4 separate regions of the Homo sapiens genome follow, and regions 2, 3 and 4 are each linked to region 1. The links are contacts of gene promoters, found by promoter capture Hi-C in blood cells and fetal thymus (Javierre and others, 2016). All regions are on one chromosome and are shown on one strand. Each heading gives the region's core, a stretch centred on a gene start or on the middle of the fragment in contact. The rest is flanking DNA. Distances are from core to core; before and after follow the strand shown. Region 1 holds the start of DHX15 (DEAH-box helicase 15). Region 2 overlaps LOC105374524 (a long non-coding RNA gene). Region 3 overlaps SEL1L3 (SEL1L family member 3). Region 4 holds the start of RBPJ (recombination signal binding protein for immunoglobulin kappa J region).

What was found. Contacts are between HindIII fragments. The CHiCAGO score rates a contact against its expected background, and 5 or more counts as called.
Region 2: a contact is called between a fragment that was not itself captured here and the fragment with the promoter of DHX15 in region 1, in 1 of 17 cell types (naive CD4 T cells). The highest score is 7.9, in naive CD4 T cells.
Region 3: a fragment that was not itself captured here is called in contact with the fragment with the promoter of DHX15 in region 1 in 2 of 17 cell types (naive B cells and activated CD4 T cells); the score reaches 5.6 in naive B cells.
Region 4: a fragment that was not itself captured here is called in contact with the fragment with the promoter of DHX15 in region 1 in 3 of 17 cell types (fetal thymus, non-activated CD4 T cells and activated CD4 T cells); the score reaches 12.8 in fetal thymus.

The regions. Positions count from the first base shown.
Region 1 is chr4:24,583,256-24,586,421 of GRCh38, reverse strand. It overlaps DHX15 (DEAH-box helicase 15), which reads left to right and starts at 1,868. Exons shown (of 14, transcript NM_001358.3): 1 at 1,868-2,099. The coding sequence starts at 2,029. RefSeq lists an enhancer at 1,430-1,969 and silencers at 2,150-2,269, 2,280-2,359, 2,560-2,609. The HindIII fragment of the contact is 7,218 bases long and covers 1-3,166 here.
Region 2 is chr4:23,331,459-23,334,760 of GRCh38, reverse strand. It overlaps LOC105374524 (a long non-coding RNA gene), which reads right to left. Exons shown (of 19, transcript XR_007058437.1): 15 at 2,269-2,432; 16 at 1,235-1,335. The region is part of intron 2 of LOC105374523 (a long non-coding RNA gene); the gene reads left to right. Among named protein-coding and RNA genes, the nearest start is that of PPARGC1A-AS1, 440 kb to the left of the region's middle. RefSeq lists enhancers at 226-455, 516-565. The HindIII fragment of the contact is 1,845 bases long and covers 892-2,736 here.
Region 3 is chr4:25,854,466-25,857,761 of GRCh38, reverse strand. All of the region lies in intron 1 of SEL1L3 (SEL1L family member 3), which reads left to right. Among named protein-coding and RNA genes, the nearest start is that of SEL1L3, 6.9 kb to the left of the region's middle. The HindIII fragment of the contact is 2,534 bases long and covers 351-2,884 here.
Region 4 is chr4:26,318,788-26,322,122 of GRCh38, reverse strand. It overlaps RBPJ (recombination signal binding protein for immunoglobulin kappa J region), which reads right to left and starts at 1,109. Exons shown (of 11, transcript NM_015874.6): 1 at 1,075-1,109. The coding sequence starts at 1,094. RefSeq lists enhancers at 1-653, 1,886-1,935, 3,026-3,075 and silencers at 766-865, 936-1,065, 2,536-2,805. The HindIII fragment of the contact is 2,569 bases long and covers 1-2,534 here.

The sequences.
Region 1 (3,166 bases), core at 619-3,118:
GCGATGGCCATCACCCCATCATAAGTCAAGGAGAATCTATACTGTAATAGAAGCTATGTGAATGTGGTCTTTCTCTCAGAATATCTTACTGTACTGTGAAAGCAAAACCAGGGACAAAGTAGGGACTATGGTACATTTAGGATAGAAAGTTGTACTGAATATTTCACAAGTGAAAAATATACTCATTTTTCTTTGTGTTGACTTTCCAATGTGGATTTGGTACAAAAAAATAAAAACCCTCCTTACCAATTGCTGGCTGGGTGCAGTGGCTCACGCCTGTAATCCCAGCACTTTGGGAGGCCGAGGTGGGCAGATCACTTGAGGTCCGGAGTTCAAGACCAGCCTGGCCAGCATGGCGACACCTCGTCTCTACGTCTCTACTAAAAATACCAAAATTAGCCGGGCGCGTAGCCGGGCGTGGTGGCGGGCGCTTATAATCCCAGCTAGGAGGGAGGCTGAGGCAGGAGAATGGCTTAAACCCGGGAGGCGGAGGTTGCAGTGAGCTGAGATTGCACCACTGTCCTCCAGCCTGGGCGACAGAGCAAGACTGTCTCAAAACAAACACACAAACCCCTCATCAGTTGCAATATTTAAGTTGCATTTAATCCTAGCAATTGCAGTCCTGAGATTTGGATAAGAACCAGAGTATGGTCTTCCAGGGCAGCCAAACCAAGCCATTCCATGAACAACAGAGATCACCCTGCTGCAGATGGTCCACAGATCTTTTCTTGTGCATTTCTTCTGGGAACAAATGCAACTGAGGAAGCAGACATATTCTAGGGGGAGAGATCCACAAAAATCCTTAGAGTCATCTTGCCCCACCTCCTTGTTATGGCTTTAGGTACAGCCCTTATGGCTAGGAGATGTAACCTTCCTCAGCCTTTGCGTCTACGTCTACAAAATAACAACTACCTTGCAGGGTGTTATTTAACACTGCGAAAGTGCATTAATAGGCACAGAAAAACAAAAAACAAAAAAGCAAATTGTGCCCTCACTGCGAATTCTCTGTATTCTAGTTAAAAACATCTATAGCTTGGGTGCATGGTGTCCGTGCTGGGCAAGAAAAGGGCAAAATAGATCATGACAAGCCTTAACATTTTCTCACTTCAGTTTCCTCACTGCAATTGATTTTTTTTTTTCTTTCAAGTCGGAGTCTTGTTCTGTCGTCCAGGCTGGAGTGCACTGGTGTGATCTCGTCTCACCGCAACCTCCGCCTCCCAGGTTCAAGCGATTCTCCTGCCTCAGCCTACCGAGTAGCTGGGATTACAGGCGTACGCCACCACGCCCAGCTAATTTTTGTATTTTTAGTAGAGACGGGGTTTCACCGTGTTGGCCAGGCTGGTCTCGAACTCCTGACCTCGTGATCCACCCGCCTCGGTCTCCCAAAGCGTTGGGATTACAGGCGTGAACCATCGCGCGGCCCCTCACTGCAACTGAGGGTAGCGCAGTGGCCGCAAGTTCCAGATCTGGAGTTACTAAATAGCTGGGTTCCAATCCCGGCTCTGCCACTTATTAGCTGTACGATCTTCATTCGTTTCTCAACCTCTCTGGGTCTGAGATTCCCTTAAAGCCGGGGTAATAGAAATGAATAGGATTTCCTAACTAGGACTAGACTTTCTCAATTTCTTGACTCAGAGGGGCAAGGATAGCCTGAAATGGAAAGTGAAGGCCTTCAGGTTCTTCCTAACAGCCGCTCCGAGGAGGGGAAAGCTACAGGAAGAGGGAGGAGACCCAAGAAAGGTCGGACCAATGAGGCAGCGGGCGGGACAGGAGTTCCCGCCTTTGGGCGTCGTGCGCGCGCACCTCGCTCACACGCACACTCGCACGCACGCACGCTGCGGAAGCGCGCGCGCGCGCAGGCCCAGCCCTCGTCGCCGCCGCCATTTTAGCTGTTGGTTCCGGCCGCACCGTGTGGGCTGTAGTAGCGGGAGGGGTGGGGGTCCTCCAGAGTTAAGTGGCTGTCCTCGACTGTGCCCATACAGCAGCCAGCTTTCTTCCTTAATAACTGCCCGTTCGAAGAGTGCGAGGATGTCCAAGCGGCACCGGTTGGACCTAGGGGAGGATTACCCCTCTGGCAAGAAGCGTGCGGGGACCGATGGGTAAGCCAGGCCGGGGGCGCGAGGCGGCAGCTCGGGCTTTGTTGGGGTCCTGGCAGGGAGCGGGCCGGGGCTGGCCTGGCCGAGCGGGTCCTGGAGCCCGAGCCTTTGTTTCTCTCTGGGCTGGGTTCACTAGCGGCGGGTAGGAGAAGCGCGGCGCCCGTTCGGCCCGGCAAGGGCGCGGGGGGTTGCGTGCGACGGGGCCGCTGCCCAGCCCAGTCCGGAGGGTGGAGAGGCCTGCAGTAGCCATGAGGGCGCCTCCTCCCCCAGGCCGAACCGAGCGGGAGTCATTTGCGAGGGCGTCGGGCGGGAGTGAACCGCGGACCTCGTGGCCTCGGTTCCCGAGGAAGGCCTGGAGCCGGAGGAGAGGGTGGGGGAGGGCGCGGTGGGAGTATTCGCTTCCAAGGGCAGCAGGCACTTCCCAGCCAGAGGGGCCGTGGGGAGGGCCTGGGTGGGGGCGCGGCCAGGCACTCCAGACGGGAAAGGCGGAGGGCGGAAAGTGAGAGCAGCGCGTGGATCATAATGTAGGCTGGGATGGGGGTGGCGGGAGTTGAGAGAAGCCAGCAAATAGGGAGTTCTCGGGGGAGGTGGGAGTAGAGGACCTGCCGGGAGAAAGGAAAACGTGGAGTAATATACCTGATGGGCTGGAAGGCTGGTGTTTTGGGGCGACTGAGTTTATAGTTTGGCGGGAGAGAGCGTGCCTTGGTCCATTCAAACACTTCAAAGTAGATACTAGCAAACTTCCGCTCTCTGCCTACGCTCCCGCCATCTCCTGTATTTCCTGCTTTGGTTAAAACTGGTTACTGAACATCGTCCCATGGGGAGGGATTAGAAGGCATTGTTTTTTTTTTTCATCATTTATTTTCTATGCATGTCCCACTTTTCTTCATAAGTAGCTTTTGAAATACAGGGATCATGTTCAAAACGTGTTTTTAGTATTTATGGCGAAACACCGCCCATGTGGAGGTTGAGAGTTGAAATACTTACACAAACTCTTGGTGTTCCAGATTCCTTTCCTTAAAGGTACAGAGGAATTTAGCAGTTAATTTAAGCAATTTCGTGAAAATCAT
Region 2 (3,302 bases), core at 565-3,064, 1.3 Mb after region 1:
TCTACGTGTCAGAAGTGTCAGTGTTGCTAAATTCTTCAACTCTGAATTTCAAGAGAACCCCAGAGCCATGTTGCTCATTTCCCAATGGACACCTTTATCTTGTACTAACATTTCAAGAATTGCCTTGCTTTCTGGCTTTTTTTCTTGTTTAGAAAATTCTGGCAATGAGTTACTTTAGAAAGCAGCCCAACCTCTGACAAAGTCTTCTGTTTTCTGACCTGTAACAGAAACTAACTCTCAACAAAAGAGCAATTCTCCACCTGCAGGCCTAAGCACGGAACTTTAATGTAAATGACAATTGCAGGAGCCCTTAGAAAGGAGATGGGGAGGAGGGTGAGGTCATGTGACAAGATTTCTACTCTGTGTCAGCCCTTTTCTTTGGCATTTAGATGAGTTGAATGACAGGTAAAGCTTAGGGCTTAGGCTGCCAGGAACAAAAAAAAAGTGGGTAAATTTAATCATTTGCTCTAGTCTTTAAATATCCTGTACAGCTTTCAGGCACAAAGCAATCTTCCTACAGAGAAACAAACCCAGGATGTGGTTACAACGTACTGTTCTACCTCTTTGTGTTAAAGTGCCTTAATGATCAGGAAAAAAAAAAAAGATTTGCATGAAGGCTTTTTATGGAAAGCACTTAACACAATGGTTACGCAAGACAAACGTCAGCACAAGTGGATATAACTGATATGATGAGTCATCCTATGTGGTTTAAAGCCACCACAAGTGAATGTCTTTTAATTCAGCCTACATAAGCCCAGAACATCTTTTATAGGACTTTGAGGGTATCTATGGCATTGACAAGATACAATTAGCTCCTTGACTGAATCGTAAGATTGAAGGACAGTCTGATTTAAAAATGATTAAGGTGAGTGGCATATGGATGCCAAAGCTTCTTCTGAAATCAGCCTTGGTGATTTGTTTTTCTCTCCAGGTATAATGTCATAACACACACACAGACACACACACACACATACATACACTCAAACGCATAGTGACATCACCTTAAGATCTGAGTAATGTAGGCAGGATAGAAATATAATTGGCCACAATATTGTCTCATGTAAGCACATTAGTGATGCTTACTTAATCTTTTGGCATCCAGTCATTCTCTGGAGTAAGAAGTAAGGCTTTCTGTTTTAATTTCGTGACTCGAATTTGGAAACAATCTTTGCTCTTCGAAGAAAGGTACAATATAAGATTTTATTATTATACTGATTACATATTTGATAATTACCTGGTCTTATTGTCACTAGTATGGCTGTCATTACACATTGATTATAGCATTTCTTTCTGTTGACATCAAACAGGACCTCAGAATTCTTCTCAGCAAAGTGCCTGAAGAAAACACGGTAAATCAACTGGAATGACCATGTGAAATAAAGTCTACCTACTTCTCATTCACAGCACATATCAGACAACCTAATAATCAAGGTTATGATTTTCAGATATCCACTTTATCCAAATGAACATTTGGTAACATTAGGTTCTGCAACAGCAATTAATACAGGGACTCATTTAAAATTGCTGCTACCTTGTCTTTCTGATATTTTAATGGGTTGTCTTCAGTTCATACATTCTTTTTATTTCCCATTTCTTATAGAGCCCAGTTATAAGGCCCATTGTAGTATAATCAATAAAAAACTGTTGACTGATCAATTAATAATGTGATGATTTGTCTAAAAGCTGCATTGGTAGAAAGGAAATAATTTTGTACTAAGAGTGAAAACATTTGAGTTCTATTCTTTATATCTGCAAGTAACCATGGTTGGAAAACGTGTTTCAACTTCTCTAAAACTCAGTTTCCTCATTTCTTAAAATAGGGCAATAAACTGGATATTTTCTAAGGCTTCTCCCATTAGAAAATACAGTAATTATTCTGAGATATGTGCATGAATAGGTATCTCATTTATTTTAAAGTAAATAAGGTACCATAAATATCTATTTTCAAAGATAAAACTCTTCTTTATCTTTCCATTTCCATTCTCCCCATCTCCAACACTTATTTTCTCAATTTACTTGGAGCGTACAATATTTAGGTAGGGTGTGGCTCTGAGAAATAGTAAAAACATCCCCTCCCACACACATCCCGTAAAACACACACATATGCACTCACATTAGTGAGAGGACCAATGAAGGAATTCCCTTGAGTTACTGATTTCTGCAAATTTGACTCAGTTTTATTCACTACCAAAAGGAGCTATTGGAAACCTTGTAATCTCACTGAACTCGCATTCAAGGAAAATCTCTCTATTTCTCAATAGTTCTTACCATTTTTGCATATGCTATTCACTTTGAAAAAACTTTCTCCAGGAAAATTCCTATGACTTCTAGACTGAGCCAAAATGCCAGCTCCTCATTGATGCATATGTAATTCTCCTTGTCAGTGTCAGGTTCTCTGTCTGCAGTGATTTCTTAGCACTTTAATTGTGCCTCTGTGGAAGAAGTTATATATTGTAATTTAAAAATATCTGTTCATGTTTGTTTCTCCCAACTACTTAAAAGCAGTCACATTTTAGGTACATCTAGTTTATCTTAAGGAGCTGTATTAGACTGGCTCCTTTAAAATTCTGGAGTCCACTTAATATCCCATTTCAAGGTAAGCCCCAGAATGCTTTTCAGCAGCATTCTTGACCTCTCTATTACTATGAAAGCTAGACTCTGACACTTTCGCATGTCAAGTCCAGAACTCCCTAGAGAATCTCCCTAAAAGTTTTTAGCCTTTTTCAAAATGAAGCTTACCGGAGAAGAGAGTGAACAAGAAGGCTTTAGGTCTTGTGATATTAATTATTTTTAAAGAAGAATAGATTATCATATTTTAAAACTAAAATCATCATTTTTCTTCATGTTACTTCTTTGATTATCTGCATACATTACTAGAGAACCAGTGGTCTAAATTCTTAGAACCTTGTTCCTGGTCTTTCAGCCCTCACAAAAAAAGGTGACTTACACAAGCACCTGACTGGCATCTGACAATTCCCAAAGGAATTACTTCCAAAGTAAAGCATCTTGCATTAATTTTCTCATCTCTAAATTTACCTCAGACATCTATCCTCATATCAATATGAGTCTGTATGTCTGTGTGTACAGGTTTCATATTTAATAGCACATATGATCACAGATTTAAAGCATCAATTAGCAACTCGCATATAATGGCAAATGCATTTGCCAAATGGATGGAAAATGCTTTTTTTTTCATCTCTTCTTCCTCTAATATCTCTTACTAGACAAATCATCATTACTGGCGAGCTCTGACAACAGACCTTTCTAAGTCCGATTCTGTCATTTGCTTGGTAGACACGTTG
Region 3 (3,296 bases), core at 368-2,867, 1.3 Mb before region 1:
ACGTGAGTTGAGGGCATCATCTTTGGGTGTTGTTAGAAGACAAGAGGCACACCTTCCCTGGCTTTGGAGTCAGCCAATGTGGATTTGAATTTTGGTTCTGCTTTTTGGTAGCTGGTTGACCTTGGGCAAGTTACTTACCCTCTCTGAAGGCATTCCATTGCCTCAGCTGTAACAGTGGGATGCTGTCTCCCTCTGTGGGTTGTTGTGAGGATTGGGTTAGAAGTGAGAAGTTCTATGAGGTCCCATGTGAGAGGTGGAGGTTAGAAGTCAGAGAGAGAAAAAGGTTTAACACACCCATCCCAGTGCTCAGTACACAGTAGGTACTCAATGAAATAAGAGCAAACCAAGCTTAGGTAGCTTTGTGTGATGTAAGTTGGGAAGAAACAGCATATTAAATAGTATGGGGGAGAATCTTACACAACCAGGAATATTGATCATGACTGTGATGGTGTGGCTCTGGCCAGCTCTCAGGTTTAGGAGGGAATAATACTCAACTGGGAAGTTCTTCCCTAAGCACATGCTGATTTTGAAGTCTGTATTGACATCATCATCCATTTTGCTTAATTGCATGCTTTGTTGACCTAAACAGAATTTTTGCTTATATCTAGTAGACAGAAATTACAAAAATAGGCCCTTTAAGGCAAGACACTTACCTTTTTGATCTAGGGAAAATGTGATCCAGCCAGTTTGAAGAGAAAGCCCTCATGAGCCACAGTTTTCTTAGAAGAATGGGGCAGAAAGGTCAGGAATGAGAAAAACAGTTATTGTTTTCTTGTCATACCCACCCACAGACATGTGTACATGCCAATGAACTTCCCGTAGCAAGATGTGGATGATTTAAAGTTTCCCAATCTCTCTGTTCCTTCCTTAAATACCAAGTGGAGACCAGATAGAGAACAAAGCCAAGTTTTCTCAGCTCTTTGAGCAAGGGAGGGTTATTTGAATAGCATCTCTTCTTATTGATTTTCTTAAAGGAATCAAATGCAGTTATCCTAAAAGAAGTTTAGGTCATATTGATAGTTTTATTTTTCCATCCAGAATATACATAAATTCATCTGTTTCTTGATTCCCAGGCTGAGTTCAATGCATTTAGATCTCCTATTTGGGGTCTTCTATCATGAACACACATTAACTGGCCCATTTCTTTGTTTTTTTTTTTTTTTTTTTTAATTACAATACATGCACATTTACACAAAAGCAAGAGAATCTGTGTTTTGTGACTGTGCATGACGTTGTCAAATTTGACTTTGATGAGGGCTCACATCTGGTATAAACATATTTGAGGGCTCAAGCATTTTTCAGGGCCCAGCTCTGTTGCGTGCAAAATGGATCAGTATGTTGCTTTCAAGGTGGAACATCTATTGTAGCTGCCTAAACCACATAATTTGAGGGGCACAGATGCCCCTCTTCACCCCAAATATCTTGCTTAGAGTTGCGGTGCATTTAGACTGTGCTTTTAAGGCATTATCTCCACAAAGCTGGTGTAGAAATACAGATACGTGACCTTACCTCAGTATTTTTTCATTATCACAGTAACATGGATGAACTTGCCAGATGAACAGGAATTCAGCAGAGGGTCGAGGGATGAGAAATCTTAAAAATTTAATTTGTATTTTTGGTGTGGAGAAATGGAAACGGTCTAGAATGTAGGGCAGTTGTCTGAAAAGGTCTAGAGGGACCAAATAGCTGGGAGAAGTTTGCCCCAAATGGTTAAGGTGGGTGCCAAGGTGCCACCTTCTCTGACCTCACAGTTCCCCAGCTCAGCTCTGATCCCCAGGGACCAATGAGGTGCCAAAGGGTAAGGGCTCTTTGGAAGGAATTAACGAGGCTGGGAGAAAAATAGAGAAATGATGGGGGCCCCTTACAAGAGAACTTACGAGTATAAGAAGAAGGCAGTGGGGACTCAAAACTGATCAAGTCATTTGGTTTATATGCAAGTGCCCTCAGGGCCACTGAGGCACCTGGCAGAAATGCCCATGCCCAGTGCTTTTTTTTTTTCCTGAGACGGAATCTCGCTCTGTTGTCCAGGCTGGAGTGCAGTGGCACAATCTCGGCTCACTGCAACCTCCACCTCCCAGTTTCAAGTGATTCTCCTGCTTTAGCCTCCCAGGTAGCTGGGATTACCGGTGCCCGCCACCACACCTGGCTAACTTTTTTTTTGTATTTTTAGCAGAGACAAGGTTTCACCTTGTTGACCAGGCTGGTCTCAAACTCCTGACCTCAGGTGATCCACCCGCCTCGGCCTCCCAAAGTGCTGGGATTACAGGCATGAGCCACCGTGCCCAGCCCCAGTGCTTTATTTCAGCAAGAAACACTTACTAAATTCTTACTGTGTGTCAGACTCTATCTTAGAAGCTGGAAACATAACAATGACATGGACTCTGAACTCATAATTTCTAAACAAAGGAACATGCAGATAAATTTTTAGCTTGTGTTAATGCAACCTGGCATGTGAAAATACCTATGAAGGCTGGACACGTGTCATGCCTGTAGCTGGAACTCTTCAAGTTAATTGCCTTATTTTCCTGGCAGGAAACAGCTTATAACCACACACATGACTTGAGCCAGGAAGTCAGCTTCAGCTTAATCAATATTTAGAGTGTGATGTGTTGCTAATCAGTGTTGGTTTTGTGCATAGGAAAGGTAGCCACGACTCGTGGTGAATCAGCTGCCCACAGGTCTGCTACAAGCCACCGGATGCCAGCTTCCTTCATTGCATGGGTGCCTCAAAGCACCTTCTTGAAGGGTTTAGACCATGTTCTGCACAGGCCATGCAGGGTGATTTTGAGGCCCTCTTTGGGGCCAACACACCCTCATTAACTTAAGGAAACATTGCCCCACCCCGAAGTTTCTCTTCTCTTGTACTCCAGCTGTCATTCAAGCTTCTCCTACTTGTCAAACAATCCATCTCAGTCCTTAAAATTTGATCTCTTTGCCTAGCTTAACTTCATGTTATCCTCTGACTTAGATCTTTTCTGAAAGAAACAATAGCAAAATGTCAACACTCTCCACCAGGGAACCTTTTAGAAAAATACAGAATCAAGCCCCATCAACTACACACATATGAAATGATGCCCAGTTGAGCTATTCACCCCGTTTCTCCTATATGAGAACTCCTAACAAAGCATATCTTCTGTCACCTTTTGTTCTTCAAAACTCTATCTGGGATAATAGCTTGATAATTGGCCAGGCGCTGTAGGCTCATGCTGTAATCCCAGCACTTTGGAAGGCCGAGGTGGGTGGATCACCTGAGGTCAGAAGTTCGAGAGCAGCCTGGCCAACATGGTGAAACTCGG
Region 4 (3,335 bases), core at 1-2,500, 1.7 Mb before region 1:
AACCAGGAGGGGGGCGGGGGCCGGGGGGCGCAAGAACCACCAAGAGACCAGATCTTTTTCCAAGGCTACTGTTTCCAAGCAAAACAACCCACGGCACTAAAAAGACGGCGATGAAAATTGGAGACGCTTTAATCCCGAGAGAAAGGGGTGGCGATAGGGGGGCGGGAGGGTACAAGAAATCCCGAGAAAAAGAGGTGCGGAGGAGAAAACTAAGTATCCCATGCATCTTTCAGACCCACAAAACAACAAACCGTAGAGTCTTGTGTGCACTTAGAAGCAGCAGATGGAGTCCCCGGGGCTGAGACAGTTCAGCAGACGTACACCGTGGGTTGTGGATAAATCAACCGATGACGGGAGAGGAAGGGGGTGCCGAGAGAATAAGCCCGTGGATGGGGGAGACAAAGCCTCGGGGGGTGATCCAGGACCATACAGAAAGGTGAGAGGGGACCCACAGGAGAAAGACAATGGAAGAACAATTAAGGCAGAAATCTGGTGCCCGGGCTGTGGCAGGTCACTGGGCTAACGACAAGAGTGTGGCACAACAAAGGGGCACGGGAGGAAGGACAGCGGAGGGGAGGAGATGGAGAGGGGATGCGGGACGCCACGGGTCGGACAAAGCGCCCAAGGCGGCGAAACAAAGGGCCGGGGGTAGAGAGTCGCAGCGGGTAGCGGTGAAAGACAAAGCGCCCGGGGCCGGGGGCACTAGCGGGGCGAAGCGGCGACAACGGCCGCGAGGAACAAAGATGCACGGGGCCCCCAGGCAGAGCCCGCTGGAGGCGCGCGGGAGGCACGGCGCCCGAGGGCCCCGCGCGCCCTGCCGCACTCACGCCCGCACCCGCCGGCCTCGCCGCCGCCGCCGCCGCCCGCCCTCACGCGCTGGAGCCTGAGCCACGGCAGCGCAGAGCGGCAGCGCACGGCCACACGCCGCCGCCGCCGCGCTCGGCGCACGCGACGCCGCCCCCGCGGGCCCCCGAACGCCAAGCGCGCCGCGGCCCCCGAACCCGCTGCCCGCCGTGAGCTGCCAGACGCCCGCAACTTTCCCGGTTCCCGGCGCTCCGATTCCCTCAGACTTACCCTGTCACAACAGGCGCCATCTTCCACAAACTCTCGCCAAAACTCCAACCCTCGCGAGATTCCCCCCGACGCCTTCCCTGGTCCCTCTCCCCCGCCCCTTCCCTTTTTCCTCACTCCTCGATTCCACCCAGCCCCCGCGCTCCCTTTCCCCTCGCCGCCGCCGCGAAGAGCCAGACGCCTCGCGCCGCCCGCAGAGTAGGGGATCCTGCTCGCTGCCTTCCCTGGAAACCTACCCAGGCGATGGAGCATGCGCAGGCGGCTCCTCCGCGGGCGAGCCCTCCGTGTGGTCCATGGGGAGCGCTCCGGTTATCCGGGTTTTAGGACGCGCTTTGAGGGACGTACGTGGAGACTGAGGAAAACCGGAGGGGATTACTACGGGGACGAGGAATGGAGGGGTCAGGAGGCGGGGCCGAGGAGAAGGGAGGAGGGGTCCTGGGAAAATGGGCTGCGTTTCACAGGCCTAGATGAAACACCTCCTCAATGGGTGTTTTCCAAGCGGCTTCCCGCTCACTCTGGGTTCCCAGCTATTTTCATTCATTCAAACGTTCCCTGGGCGCCTCCTTTATGCTAATCTCGGCGTTTGGTGCAGGAGCGCCAGAGATGTCTGGGGTTCGGGCAAGTGACACGTCGGGGACTGTCTTCATTCATTACACCCCCCCATGCTAATGAGGAGGCCCTTCCAGAGCTCCTCAAGCGGAAAACTTTTGCAGTTGAGCTCTCTCGCCTTAGCGTTCTCCTTGGGTGTGAAATGAGGTCAAGCCAAGGCCTCTAGCAAAGACACCCCTAATGGCCACCTCGCAGACACACGCCAGAGCGCGGAGTAGTTCTCTCCAGAAGGGAAAACTGCCTTGGAATTGAGAGCCACATTCTCCCACCTCCGAGTCTGCCCAGAGGACCCGATCAAAGCTCTTGCCGCTCGCGTGCTGCATGGCCTCTCTAAGACCCCATCGCAGCCACCACCGTGTGTGAGCCCAGGTGTGTGTTGAGACCACTACTGCACAGGGAACCGGGCCACCCGAGGGCCTGGCACAGCCGAGGACGCTGCCGGCTGCCCGAATCGCGCTTCAGGCGGCCTGATCCCGGAAGCCCCCGGGCAAACCTGGCCCCACCGGGCATGGAACAGCAGGGTGAAGGGCCCGAATCCCGCCCCCTCCTCCTACCTGCAGCCCCCCATCTTTCCCCTCCTTTGCTCTTTCCTTTCCTAGAGATTCCCAGATCCAGCACTGCCTCCCGCAGGGAGCCCCAAAACCCGGAGAACTGGAATTCGCCGCCCGAAACCTGTTGAAGGCGCTGCAGGATTGGCGCGGCCCGCGCGAGCGGCACTGCGCATGTACCCAATGCGGGCAGTCCAGTCTCACGCTACACCTCCTTCCCACCGCCTTCCACTACTCGGCTCAGACACAACACGGCCGTGGGAAATTTCCTAAACCTCGCGAGAACGTGCCCCTGTTGCCTAAGCTTTCGCCCCAAATCTCGCGGAGCCAAGGCAGGACAGGTGTTTGCCTAGACCAGCTCCGGGCGCCGTTCGTGCAGCGCGTGCCCGGGAGGCGGGCGGCGGGCGGCGGGCGCGGGCGGGGTGGGAAGGGAGCGGCTTGCCGCGGAGGCGGGGCGGGAAGGCGCGTGGCTGGGAGCACGGGGCGGAGGGCGGCGGGGGAGGAGACCCGCGTCTCGCACACAACACGCACACGCCCTGTGACGCTGGATGGAAGACGAGGGGTGGGGAGCCTCGAACGGAGGAAGGGGAAGCCAGGAGGTTGGAAGTCGCTGCCGGTACGGAGAGTGAGAGGTCAGGCTCTAGGGCAGGAGGAGCCCCAGGCCGATCTCCCGGGGAGGTTTCCTGTCGCCCTCCACAAGCCTGGTACTTTCCTAAAACGTGTTAGACACCGCGCCCCCCGCCTCCGGGAGCTGACAGACAGCCTCCAGAGTCGGGTTTGAGTCATGCCTTGAGTCACCTAGTCTGGCCACTACTTCGCTTACTTTGAAACAAGTTCTGATTCCTTAGCTACTCTACTTTAGCAATTGGTTTCTTTTTTTTTTTTTTTTTTTTTTTTTGAGACGGAGTCTTGCTCTGTCGCCTAGGCTAGAGTGCAGTGGCGCGATCTCGGCTCACTGCAAGCTCCGCCTCCTGGATTCACGCCATTCTCCTGCCGCAGCCTCCTGAGTAGCTGGAACTACAGGCGCCCGCCACCACGCCCGGCTAATTTTTTCTATTTTTTAGTAGACGGAGTTTTACCATGTTAGTCAGGATGGTCTCGATCTCC